3 separate regions of the Homo sapiens genome follow, and regions 1 and 2 are each linked to region 3. Evidence: promoter capture Hi-C in 16 types of primary human blood cells and fetal thymus (Javierre and others, 2016). All regions are on one chromosome and are shown on one strand. Each heading gives the region's core, a stretch centred on a gene start or on the middle of the fragment in contact. The rest is flanking DNA. Distances are from core to core; before and after follow the strand shown.

What was found. The method cuts DNA at HindIII sites, captures the fragments that hold promoters and counts their contacts. A CHiCAGO score of 5 or more calls a contact.
Region 1: a contact is called between a fragment that was not itself captured here and the fragment with the promoter of SLC25A42 in region 3, in 1 of 17 cell types (fetal thymus). The highest score is 6.3, in fetal thymus.
Region 2: a fragment that was not itself captured here is called in contact with the fragment with the promoter of SLC25A42 in region 3 in 1 of 17 cell types (erythroblasts); the score reaches 6.9 in erythroblasts.

What each region holds. Positions count from the first base shown.
Region 1 is chr19:19,457,566-19,461,837 of GRCh38, forward strand. The region is part of intron 1 of GATAD2A (GATA zinc finger domain containing 2A); the gene reads left to right. Among named protein-coding and RNA genes, the nearest start is that of MIR640, 25 kb to the left of the region's middle. RefSeq lists enhancers at 2,275-2,569, 2,466-2,685, 2,996-3,115, 3,446-3,585. The HindIII fragment of the contact is 878 bases long and covers 1,261-2,138 here.
Region 2 is chr19:19,352,611-19,356,852 of GRCh38, forward strand. MAU2 (MAU2 sister chromatid cohesion factor) reads left to right here. Exons shown (of 19, transcript NM_015329.4): 17 at 1,745-1,835; 18 at 2,654-2,781; 19 at 3,098-4,242. The coding sequence ends at 3,172. Among named protein-coding and RNA genes, the nearest start is that of MAU2, 34 kb to the left of the region's middle. The HindIII fragment of the contact is 5,642 bases long and covers 1-4,242 here.
Region 3 is chr19:19,062,453-19,066,719 of GRCh38, forward strand. It overlaps SLC25A42 (solute carrier family 25 member 42), which reads left to right and starts at 1,542. Exons shown (of 8, transcript NM_178526.5): 1 at 1,542-1,663. It overlaps LOC124904655 (a long non-coding RNA gene), which reads right to left and starts at 1,073. Exons shown (of 3, transcript XR_007067160.1): 1 at 738-1,073. RefSeq lists silencers at 1,014-1,183, 1,444-1,713. The HindIII fragment of the contact is 7,903 bases long and covers 1-2,414 here.

The sequences.
Region 1 (4,272 bases), core at 450-2,949, 400 kb after region 3:
CTGTCTCTACTAAAAAATACAAAAAATTAGCCGGGCGTGGTGATGGGCGCCTGTAGTCCCAGCTGCTGGGGAGGCTGAGGCAGGAGAATGGTGTGAACCCGGGAGGCGGAGCTTGCAGTGAGCCGAGATCATGCCACTGCACTCCAGCCTGGGCAACAGACTGAGACTGTGTCTCAAAAAAAAAAAAAAAGATTAACAAAAGGCCCCTTGCACACTGTGGAAGGCTTATCAGAGTGGCCACCTAGACAGAGGCATGGTAGCCTGAGTTCAGACCTAGCCTGGACTTTCACCCAGCCAGACTTCAGTTGTGCCTGTACCTTGTGGGATGACACATGCCCGTCTCCAACTCATGCAGGCTCTCAGTGAGAGGTAGTTGGCTCCAGCCAGCTTGCACCTCCCCACTGCTGGTCTTATCCTAGGACCACTGCAGGGAGACGATCTCTCAGTTTGGGGTCTTTGAAGGCTCAGGGAGCTCCTAGCCAGCTGACTAGGCTGGGGTCCATCCTGATAACATGAGAGAGAGAAGATGTCTGTATCTCTGGTGTGTCTTTACTTTTCAGGCCACCAAGGGTTAAGAACCCAGCGTCAGCCAGTGAGTAGTAGACATCTGTTCTCCTTTTGAGAAAGCCTGTAGTTCAGGACTCACCACGGCTTTCCCTTCCTTGGCCTGAAACCCTCCCTGCTCAGCTGCTTGGCGCATGCTGTTCCCCTGCCTGGAACGTCTCGCCTAATTCCTTTTCCTGCCCTGGCCTCAGTCTGGGAGACGCCATCTCAGTCCCCATGTCTTGGAGTTTTAAATGAAAGCACTTTACTTGTTTGCTCCTCTTTGCCCTGTAGGGCAACCCTGGGAATCACATGCTTCATGAGTCTAATTTACAGAAACGTAGGCGTAACTCAGCAGTGCATACCAAGCCCATACTGTTTGCTCTACACTGAAAATGAAGATGAATGGTGAAAAAAAGTTTCTGCCATTGAGAGCTTAACATTGAGTTGCAGTGAGAGATGAAGCTCCTGAGTGGCACGGAGATTGTTGCCAGGGCTCTGGTGAGGTACGCTGTGGCCTGGTGGTTGTGGCCACTCAGGGAGGCTTGTGGCCTATATAGAAGGCGGGCTGTGGGAATGAGCTGGGGGGTTTGGGTTGACTGTTTAGAATTTGAGAGTCTCTAGCATATGGCACAGAAGGTAGATGATTTAAGCTGCGTGGACATCTTCGATAAACACTGGAAGAATGGGCAGTGGTATCCTCTCTCGGCCCACTGAAGCTTCTGTGTCCATCTTGTGTCCTTAGTCCTATGCGTTGGAGTATTGGAGGAGCCAGCTTCCCCCTCTCTCCAGAGCTTCTCACCCTAGGGAGCCTCCTTCCTCCTCGCCTGGATGAGGTACTGTCTTTCTTTGTTAGTTTCTTTCTTTCCTTTTTTCTTTAAGAAACATGGCCTCACTATGTTGCCCAGCCTGGACTCATACACCTGGGCTCAAGTGATGCTCCTGCCTTGGTCTCCTGAGTAGCTGGGACTACAGGCATGTGCCACTGTGCCTGGCTTCACACTTGTGCTTTTGATTCTCATCCTTAGCAGGTGGGGCTGTTGTTTTATCTGGTTTTCTTTTTTAATCCTTGCTTTCTTTGAATACAGGACTGATTCATAGTCACTGTTAAAGAATTCAAGCAATACAGAAATGTTTACTATAGTAAGTGAAAGTTTCTTAATAATCTACTCTTCAGAGATTACTACCACTGATTTTGGTCCAGTTCCTTTCAGTTTTGATTTTAGTGAAGTTACTTTCAGTTTTTTCCCTATATACACCTTTTTTTTTTTTTTAAACCATGTAAATGGTACTATGCTATTCTGCAACTTTTCTCCCACAGTTCTTTCCATTTTTCTTCACATAGCATTGTCTGTGAAGTAGGGATGGGAAAACTGAGGCTCAGCTCAAGCATCACTTGAGCCCAGGTGTTTTGAGTCCAGCCTGGGCAACATAGTGAGACCTTGTTCTTAAAGAAAAAAGTTTGGGTTGACTGTTTAGAATTTGAGAGTCTCTATCTAGCATGTGGCACAGAGGGTAGATAATTTAAGCTGCATGGACATCTTTGATAAACACTGTGGAAGAAGGGGCAGTGGCATCCTCTCTTGGCCCACTGAAGCTTCTGTGTCCATCTTGTGTCCTTGGTCCTGTGGTTGATTGACAGACCTCTCCCCTGGCCCATGGCCAGCCAGCGTGTGTGTGATGGAGCTGAGACCAAGTCTCTGTTCCCTGCTGTGTCTAGTTGTAGGAGCTGACTGCTTGGAACACCTTTCTGTCTCTCAAGTTAAGTTGTATCTCTCGTACTTGGCCTTAATGAAGTTTGACATTGAGAAGTCCAGAGCTGCTGTTTCCGGTGTGGCTTCCTTCCGGAATGAGTCCTAGTCACTGTTACTCAGAGATGTGCGTCAGGAAGTGGCTCGGGCCACAGTTCTGAGCAGATGGAGGTGTCTGTTCTGCATGGGAAAGAAGTATGCTTGTCAGGCAGGCTCTGCCAATGCCAAAACTTGGCCCACCTATTCTCTCCTTACCCCCTCAACAGGTCCTTCTGGGCCACAACAAGGTACCCTGGTTTGACTCTTAGGAAGTGGGAGAGCCACTGAAGGGGGTACAGATCCAGGATGTGGCTTTGGGAGCTTCCTCGGGCTATGCTGCCGGGAGGAGAGTAGACAGGGGTTCTGGGTCCAGAGGCCCATCTGTGCTGTGCATCAATCTGTGTGAAGGGCAGGGCCACAGGGGCGCTCTGGAGGTGGGCACCTGGGCGCAGGCTTGCTGCAGCTGTGTGCCTACAGGGTCCTTGTGTCTTGAGTGTTGGGCGCAGCTCACAGCTAGCGAGGCTAGCACCTGGACCCCGTTGTCATCATCTGACTCAGCACTGGTTGCTTCATGGGCCCTTCTTCCTTCCTGATAGGAAGAGGTGCCCTGAGGTGCCCTGTGCCTCCTGAGGACAGTGGCTGCCCCCAGGTTCAGGGCTCTGCTCCTCAGCATCTCCGTGGGGCTCATCGTGGGCCTCGCACTCAGCACATCCGAACTGTAGCCCAACCTTCCTTCCTCAAATCTGCTCCTCCCCATCTCAGAAAAGCCAGCCCCACTGGTCCAGTTGCTCAGGCAAAAACAAGTGAAAGAAAGCAACCCCCTCCGGAGTGCCCCAACTCCCCTCTGCTCTGTCCCCTTCCCCAGTGTAGCTGCACCATAGGAACCGCTCCCCTGCCCTGCAGTCCTCCAGCCAGGTGATCCTTTAGAGCAAGCCAGATTCCTCCCCTCCGGCCTGGGCCAGTGCTTCCCCCAGCACATGTCTCCGCTCAGGCCCTGTCTCCTTCAGGGCTGGCTTCCGGTGCCGCCCGTTCCACCCAGCCCCCGTCCCTCTGTGTGCTCTGACTGCCCCGTGCTCTGCCTCGTGTCCCCACAGCACCGTCACCAACACCCTCTGTCATTTCGCTCGTTTTCCAGCATGGGGGTGGATGGTGTTCCCTCTGTCTTGTTCACCACTGAGTCCCCAGCCCACAGTGGAGGCTCGGTGAGCTGCTGTCGGGTGAGGAGGCAGAAAGACGCCTAAAATCCACCGTTAAGAGCATCAGCCCTGCTGCTCCCGCCAGTGCTTTAACCCACTTACTGCGAAGCCTCACTTTCTTCCTGTCTGAAATAAGGGTGTTACTATGGGTATGTTAGTGATGGGTGCCACAGATGGCATTTTATGGTAGAGTTAGTATTAGCATTGTGATCTCAGGGGTTTGGTTTTATGATTTGTGTCATGTACTTAATTTCTCTTTTAATTATCAAGAGATGCGTACTGGCCTGGTGTGCCAGAAGTGTGCTGGGTGCCTTCTGTTTGTCCCCCAAGTCCTCTTTAAGAGTTCTGGTTCCTGCCACAGCATCAGTCAGCCTTTTGGAATTGTTCTAGAACATGTTTTCTGCCTGAGGCTCTCAGGCCAGTTGGATGGTGGCATTTTACGAAAATAAAGCAGCATTCCTATCTGCCCTAAAGCCCATGGAGGTGCTCCCGGTCAGAGCTGCGCTGTACCTGTGTGGGGTCTCTAGTGTGGCTGGAACCTGTCCTTTTTGGCCCCTAGTTGAGGAAGAGCTGGGCTACGCCCCCACCACCTGCCAGCCCAGTGTGTGCGGGACGTATCAGAGGAGACCGATGCCCACTCAGCCTTGCTGGTGCTGCTCATCTGTGCTGGCTTGCAGTCCGGCCTGGGGTGTTTGGAGAGAGTGAGGAGGAGGGTGAGGCTGACCTTCAACCTTGTGTCTCAG
Region 2 (4,242 bases), core at 1,142-3,641, 290 kb after region 3:
AAGTCACACAGCCCCAGACCGCAGAATCAGGACTGGAACCCAGACCTCACTGGCTCTGATTTGTGTAGAAACCCCTGGAAGCTGCCTGGAGCAGGGCAAGGAGGGTTGAGCAGCTGGTTCACTGCTGCTCCTGGCCCATGTTTTAGGTGTTGTGGGGGCATCTTACAGAGCTCTTTTGGGAATCCCCCTCTGCTCCCTGTGTCCCTGGGCCCTTGTCGGGTGACAAGCGGCGCCCAAGAACTCTCAGACCAAGGTCCTGGCCTTAAGTGACTCCAGATCTCGGGGAGACACAGCCAGACACAGCCAAGCCAGTCCTGTGAGGTCAGGCTGGGGACATCCAGAAAGGTGGCAGCCTTGGGGGCCGGGATAGTGTTGGTGCAGGCAGGGCAAGGTTGGCTAGGCAGGGGCTGCCACAGAGATGGGCACCACAGCAGTCAGAGCACAAGTGCCGGAGCAGACGGCTGAATGGCCACAATGGGCTCAGGTGAGGGTCCAGGGGCCCAGAAGAGCTTGGGATGCCCTGTCCTGAGCCTGTTAGGCTAGAGTGTCCACAAGAGCGGGACACCCCCCAGGATCACTCAAGTCTTCAAAACCAGATTCTGTGGGGTACCCCAAGCTGGCATTGGGGGAACCTACCCAGGAGCGCTGAAGGAGGACTCTCCTTCCCCAGGCTGCTTTCAGACAGAGGTCCTTGGCTTTCTACAGGGAGCCCAGCCAGGCTCACAATAAGCCAGGCCTAGCGGAAGAGAGCAGTTTTTCTTGCTCTGAGGTTTCAAAAGGGCTTGGTGAATTTTAAAAAGCTCCAAGACCCACCTGGAGCTCACTTTCAAGGTGCAGCTACAGGGCAGTGTAGAGTTGTTGGGCTTTGTGTCTCAGGAGGAGCATCTCTGCACTCTGGAGAAGTATCTGGTGGCGTCAAAGCCAGGTCTCAGGAGTTGGTTTTGGGGATGTGTCCATCTTGGCTTCCCAAGTGCTCCCTGGGCTGCCAGGAGCCATCATCTAGGGAATTTTCCAGGTCTTACCTGAACCCCACATCCAGGCTTACAGGGCTTTGAGTCCTCGGTCCAGACAGGGTCAGTCCAGCACTGCTGGTCGCCTGTGTAGCACAGGCTCCTGTCTGCCGTCTCCAGGCCCTTGCCATAGCAACAGGGATGGGCATTTATGGGCCCTGATGGCTCTTACTGAGCTCTTCCTGCCACATCCTGAGGATGCTAGGGCTGCAACTGGGGTGGCCCTGTGCAGTCACAAAGCAGGGAGTCCGGATTGGAGGATTCTTACATGCTGGTGCCCCCAGAGCCCCTGCGTGTCTGCGGGGGCCTCCCATGAGAGCCAACTCAATTGTGGAAGACAAACCGGAGGGGCTGCTGCCCTTCTCAGAACCTGAAACCTGGAACCCTATATGAATCTGCATTTCTGATCAGCCCCCATTGTGGGTCTAGGGCTAACGGCCATCAGTGCTTTTTCTCTGCTTGAACAGGTAGAAGCCCCCAAAGTTGTCCATTGGCCATGCCCCTGTGAGGGCATGAGCCAGAAGTGAGGGCAGTTTGTTTTTCAGTGATACTTCAGAGAGGGCCATTTGAGATGGGCTCTGAGGTAAGCATAGGAGTTCACCAGACGCAGAAGGAGGTCACAACCTGGGCTGGGTTCAGTAGGTGGGTTCCAGATTATCCCCACCCCAACCTGGGCTGGGTTCGGCAAGTGGGGTCCAGGCTCCTCACTCCCCCTTGCTGCTCTTGGTTGACAGGAGAGTAACAACATGGTGGTGCCTGCCATGCAGCTCGCCAGCAAGATCCCGGACATGTCGGTACAGCTGTGGTCGTCAGCACTGCTGAGAGGTGAGTGCAATGGCCACCCCTCTTCCCCAGCCCCAGCCTGGCCCTCCCCAGAGATCAAGGCTGCTGGGCATGTCCTGCTCAGCCTTAGCTCGGACTAGGCCTCCGTGGGCCGCAGCCCCAGTTCTAGCATGGGTAGGGGGTGCTCCTCAGGAGACCCTGGTTGAGGGCAGTGGGTGCATTTGTGGCATCCGCTTGACTCGGGGTCTGGTTCAGTCTCTATAGGACACAGAGGCTGCGACTTGGTATCTGGTAGACTTGGGCTGTTAGCCGTGGCGCTCTCAGCCTTGCTTCTTCCCGGAAAGGCAGACAGCAGCCATACCTATTGGGTAGGGCTGGCCAGCTAGCTCTGGGAGCAGGGCGGGCACTCAGCGGGTATCATTGCTGTTACCGCAGCTCCCCCATTTCCAGATTACGAAACTAAGGTCCGGAGACTCGCCTGGGGCCCTGGGGAGGTGACAGGAGACGGGGTGCTCCATGTGCAGTGGGCTGCCTGGGGCTGCTGCCTCAGGATGGGCATTGGGCGTCCTGCCCCAATGAGCGCCTGTTTGCCTGAGGGCTGGCCATGGGCTCCCTGGAGGGCTGGCGAGAAGCCTGGCATTGGGCTTTCACTGCCCAGCCAGCCCTGTTCTGCCCTATGAGGGCGGCTGGCGCATGGGCTTTGTGATCCCAAGACAGGGCTCAGGTCCAGTGACGTGCCAGGCACCCAGAGATCCACCAGTGCAGCTGGGACTTGACCTTAGGGCTCCATCTGCACCGAGTGGGAGGGCCTGGGCAGTGACAGGGCAAGGCGGGCCCCCATGCTCATGTCCCACTCTCAGACCTGAATAAAGCCTGTGGGAACGCCATGGATGCCCATGAAGCCGCCCAGATGCACCAGAACTTCTCGCAGCAGCTGCTCCAGGACCACATTGAGGCCTGCAGCCTCCCCGAACACAACCTCATCACGGTACGGGTGTGGGTGTTAGGGGACGGGATCAGGACTAGCGGGCTCCCCACCTGCAAGAGGAAGGGGCACCTTGGCTGTATTTCTCTTTTGTCCAACAAACCCTAACTCAGCCTCAGGTGATCCCTTGATGGGGGAGATGGCCATGGGCACCCCCACCCAAGCAAGGGACCCAGGTGTCTCCTCGGGGCCCATTGGACTGGGGCATGGAGAACAGAGTCCCGGCTGTGTGAGCAGCCCAAGGAAGGCAGCATTCCAACCTCTTCTTCCCTGGGAACGGTCCACAGTGCCTCACTCGCATGTCCTCTCCTCCCCACAGTGGACAGACGGTCCACCCCCCGTGCAGTTCCAAGCTCAGAATGGACCCAACACCAGCCTGGCCAGCCTCCTGTGAGGCCTTGATGGGGCCATCCAGCTCCGCAGGGCCTGCGCGTCTCCGGCTTCCACCCAGACGGCACTCAAGCCTGCCCCCGAGGCGTGCTTCCTTCCTGATTGTCTCTAGAGCTTCCAAGTCCTGGGAATGTGCGGGGCCAGTCCCTGCCCTCCCAGGAGGGGTGGTAGCCGTTCCCACCTCGCAGCAGGACCCCCAGTGCAGAGGCTCACAGGTGGCACACAGGCGCTGTCTCTCCAGAGCCATCCTTCAGAGTGGACCTCAGTGCCAGTCCTGCCTCAGCATCTGGGTCACGTCGGCCAGGAGTAGGGTGCAGGCCTCCAGCAGGTCCTAATCCTGTGTGCCAGGGCAGGCAGTGCCCCAGGGGCACCACGCCTGACTCTCCATCACCCAGGCCTTGATGCCGAGCGGGAGTAGAGTGTTTCCTCTGCTCAAGGCAATTTCCAGAGCCCGGATGCCAGTTTCTGGCCTGAATTTGGAGGGAAGAAGTAATGGCGCTAGTGTGGGACGAAGCACAGATCCCAGCACTTTTCCCAGCTTTCTCTCCAGCATCAGTCCCTGCAGCAGCTGGGGCCTCTGGTCAGGAACCCTCAGGGACCCAGGAACTCAGCTTCCAAACATCTGCACCTTGACCGGACTCGCCATCCCGCCGTGGGGGTGCAGGTGATTGTAAACACGGGTGTGCATGTGGATGCACACGGGTGTGCGGTGAAGATCTGTGGAGATGGAGCTGGGAGCTGAGGCTCCTGTTGCACCAGCCACCTTCCCCCATCTTGTGGCTGCTGAGGGGCAGGAAGCGGGGGAGTGGGCTCGTCTCCTAAATTTAAGATCACCTCCTCAGCTAGCTTAGAGTGCGTGGCACGGGCCCCCCGCCCCCGAGATCTGGAGCCCAGGGACTTTCTTCCTGGCAGATCTGTGGCCTTCCCTGCTCAGCCTCTTGGTCCCCCCACTCCCTCCACCGCCTCACCTTCCCTGCTGGGTCTCTGGGGCACAGTGTGAAACCCGCACCCTAGCCAGGCCCCAGGGAGCCTCCGCTGGGCCCAGACAGCAGCGTTTGGTTTTATCCACTTTTC
Region 3 (4,267 bases), core at 292-2,791:
AGCCCTTTCTAAGGTTGGTTTCAGCCTTGCTCCCTCCCAGGATTCCCTGGTTCTGAACTTGATCTCCACCAACCCTGGCCAGCACCTAGAGGAAATAAGAGCTGGTATCTGGAAACATTTGTAGCCCTCTCCATCCTGAAGATGAAGGGTGAGTCATAGAACAGAGTGGCTTCGGGGGAGGTGCCGATGACACAGCCATGCCTGGGATGGCAGGTGTCTCCCTAAACTGCCGGCATTTTTCTGCACTTCACAGAGGAGCTGAGGCTCACAGGCCGCACATGACCTGCTCAGGGTCAAATGCTTTCACCAGATAATTAAAATGAGAGCTGAGTTGTAAATTTTCCCAGGGAAGCAACCCCAGAGAGGAAAGATCAAGGCATAGGAATCATTTTCCCCCCTCTTTTCCAAATGAAACAGCTGAGGCTCACAAGGGCTTTTGCCCAAGGTTGTGTGGTGGGCCAGTGATTGGACAAGGATTCAAACCCAGGTCTCTGAGGCCCCCAGTGGCTCTTCTCTGACACACTCTTTCCAAAAAGCAGGCTGCTCTAGATTCATTCTCTGGTTTAGCAACCAGAGAATGCTGTGTAACCTTGGGCAAGGAGCTTGACCTCTCTGTGCTCTGGTTTCTGTAAAAGGAGCCAGTGGTCTCTCTGACCTCATGGGATTGTGGTTAAGATTCAGTTAATTCAAAAAAAGACTTGGCAGGGAGAAGGCCCAACAGGGATGTCACTGGATACCGTGGCGGGGAAAGCTGGGACGCAGAGAGGTCAGACACTCAGAAAACCACGCAGCGCGTTTCAGTAGGATTCCGCCCCTTATTTCCATGTCTTCACACCACCTCGAGATGGAGAGGGCAGTTCAGAGTGACCTCCAGCGAATCTGCCCTCTCCGTGTCGTCTGCAGGGGATTAGTGGGGAGTAAGGGGATAGAGAATTATCCAGGAGTCCTTCAGCCTTGATGGTCCAAGTTCACATCCGCTTCTGTGCTAGGTGGCCAGAGGGCGGGCTCTACACGAGAGCCTCAGGGGACCCTGCGCCAGGCGTCCGAGGCCACGTCGGGTTGCCGCGCTCCGGGTCGGACTGCACCTTGAACGCTCCAGCCCTCCCCTGGGGGCGTACCGCCCACGGCCGCTGCGACTGGCCGCGGGGCCTGCCAGTCTTCGGCTTTGCGGCCAATCCCGGTCTCCCCCCAAGCTACGCCCTCCGTTCCTCTCGCCTCTGCCCCACCGGTAGCGCCAGTTTCTTCGTAGCCCCGCCCCTGGCCCCCAGCGATTGGCCGACAGTTCTGCCTGTTTTCTGCCAAGATTCCAATCCTCGCCTGCCTCCAGGCCCTCGCCTCCCAGCGCCTAGCACCCTGAGGGACCACTCAGGCACCCCAGGCCTCTCCCAATAGCCCCACCTCTGCCAATCAGCGATTGGCTTTAGGGGCTGCCCATCTGCTTCATACTCGCCAATCACTGTCGCTTCCAGCGCTGACTGGCCAGGGAGCAGCCAATCGGGGCGTGGCGTGGACCCCTCCCGTGGCGCGCTCTGGGGGTGCGCGAGGCGGGGCCGTGGCGGCTGGAGGTAGCGGCGGCGGCGACGCGTCCGGGCCGGTGAGGGGGCGCGGGGGGCGCCGGGGGGGCCCAAGCGTCAGCGGCCCGCGCCTGTCGGGCTGAACTGAGGTGAGGCACGGGTCCTGTCATGGATCCCGGGGCGAGGGGCGGATGAGGCGGGGCATGACAGTAGCGTCGCGAGGGCAGGAAGAGGTTAAAGACCCCCCCCAACCCCACACTCCACGTCTACTGCCCCCTGGGGGCTACTGCATCCAGGTTTGAGCCCGTCACCCGCAGTCCACGCACGCCTGACACCACGTCCCTTTTCGTTGACATCCCCCATACACTTTAGACTGTCCTTGCTGACATCTCCCACACCCCTGGGGCCTTGTCCCCGGCGCCCCGCACAGCTGGGTCTGACATCCCCCTCACACACCTGACACCGCGCCCCCACTCACGAACACCCGCCCCCACTCACGAACACCCCCCACATCACCTGAGTCTGTCCTTGTCGATGACACCCCCACACCCACACCTGAGCCTGTGACTCCTAACTCATGGCCTCGCAACTCACACCTGGACCTAGTCCCGTCCCCCACTGCCTTTCCTCATATCCAGGTATCTGCTCGCTACTCTCGTGCCCACTCCCCCAGCAACCTGTGTCTCTCTTCTCAGGGACCTTCCCCCTGGCACCTGCCCTCTGCCCTGGCAGCCCCACACCTCTGTCTCCCCCTTTTCTCTCTCCCACCTTGGGCTTTCTTCCACGTGCACCTGTGTTCGCACACCCTCTGTAATAATCCCCCCGAATCCCCCAGGTCCTCCAATAGTCCCCCAAGCCTTGGTATCTCAGGATCGCTGCACCCTCCCCTCCCCAAACAAAAGCTTACCCCAGTGTTCATTTCTAACAGTGCTTGACAGTCTATAAAGTGATTTCCGGACCTTAGAATAATCCCATCTGTCAGACCAAACCGGAATCATCTCCATTTTACCAGCCACAGACCTAAACCACTTGAATGCTAGAGGCAGAGCCTATTCTACCCTGGGCATCGCTGACCCTCTGCTGTGGACCCACCGCGTTTGGGCCCATCTGTTATGTTTATCTCAGAGGGATTGGCAGGAGTCGTGACTTTGACTGGGTCCGGAAAGGCTTAGCTGGAAGGGACGGCCCCTCTGCCAAGCGTGTGTCTCGGAGTCCTGGGGCAGGCTGGCGGTGGAGACGCTGCCGGAGGAGGGGGGCTCATCATCTTGGGTGCCTCCTGCAGGATGCCGGAGAGGGGGTTGCCGGGGCCGGGGCTCCCAGCTCTTGCAGACCCGGGACCCCTCTCCGACACTCCCTGGGCCCTTGAAGCCGATAAAGAGTAAGGAAACACTCTTTAGAGTGAGGCAAACTAATGTTTCAGCTGTTTAAAGCTAACCTGCAAAACGAGCCTGGGTGGTGCTAGGAATGATTCTTCTGGAATTTTTTAGTTCCCTTGAGTCTGATTTGCAAGCATGCAGCATAGAAGGAGGACAGTGGCTTTGTTGTTGAAAAGCAATAACGTGCCATTTCCTGTAAGGCTCCTGGAGCGTTTCTTACCCCCTCCCACCGCTCCCTGCAAAGACGGTACCAGAATGTTTCAGAGGGTCATGTCACCTTCAGCTTCTCCTGTGGAAACTGAAGCCATTTGGGTTTTCTGTCCAACTTCAATAGGAGTCATTTAAAACATATATGGGCATGTATGTATATATGTATGTATATGTGTGTGTGTTGTACACATATGTACATGTACCTATAATATTCATATGTTTATATACATATTTTATATATACATATTTCGTGTGTGTTATATATGTACATGTGTATAAACTTTGGCAAGATCATTGAGTATATAGTTTTTGGGTTTTTTTTGAGACGGAGTCTTGCTCTGTTGCCCAGGCTGGAGTGCAGTGGTGTGATCTCGGCTCACGGCAACCTCTGCCTCCTGGGTTCATGCAGTTCTCCTACCTCAGCCTCCTGAGTAGCTGGGATTACAGGCATGTGCCACCACACCCAGCTAATTTTTGTATTTTTAATAGAAACGGGGTTTCACCATGTTGGCTAGGCTGGTCTCGCACTCCTGACCCCAAGTGATCTGCTCGCCTCAGCCTCCCAAGATGCTGGGATTACAGGCGTGAGCCACCACACCCGGCCTATTATATAGTTAAAAAGAAAAAATCAAACAGTACAAAAGGTCACATAGTAGAAATCAGTCAGGTCTTCCCCAGCCTGTACCCCGTTCCTCCTCAGATGCACCTGCTGTTGATAATTTCTTATGTTTTCTTCCAGAGGTAGTCTATGACTGGGGTGGCAGAAAGGGGTCGGGGGAGGTATATATCCCCCACCCCTTTTAAACCACTGGTAAATTTGCATTGAGCAGACATATGCATTCTAAGGCCAGTCCCTTACTGATGGCTGTTTAAGCTGCAGCCCATATTTTTTTTTTCTTTCTTTTTTTTTTTTTGAGTTGGATTCTTGCTCTGTCGCCCAGGCTGGAGTGCAGTGGCGCGATCTCGGCTCACTGCAAGCTCCGCCTCCCAAGTTCAAGCCATTCTCCTGCCTCAGCCTCCTGAGTAGCTGGGACTACAGGCACCCACCACTACACCCGGCTAATTTTTTCATATTTTTTTAGTAGAGACGGGGTTTCACTGTGTTAGCCAGGATGGTCTCGATCTCCTGACCTTGTGATCAGCCTGCCTCGGTCTCCCAAAGTGCTG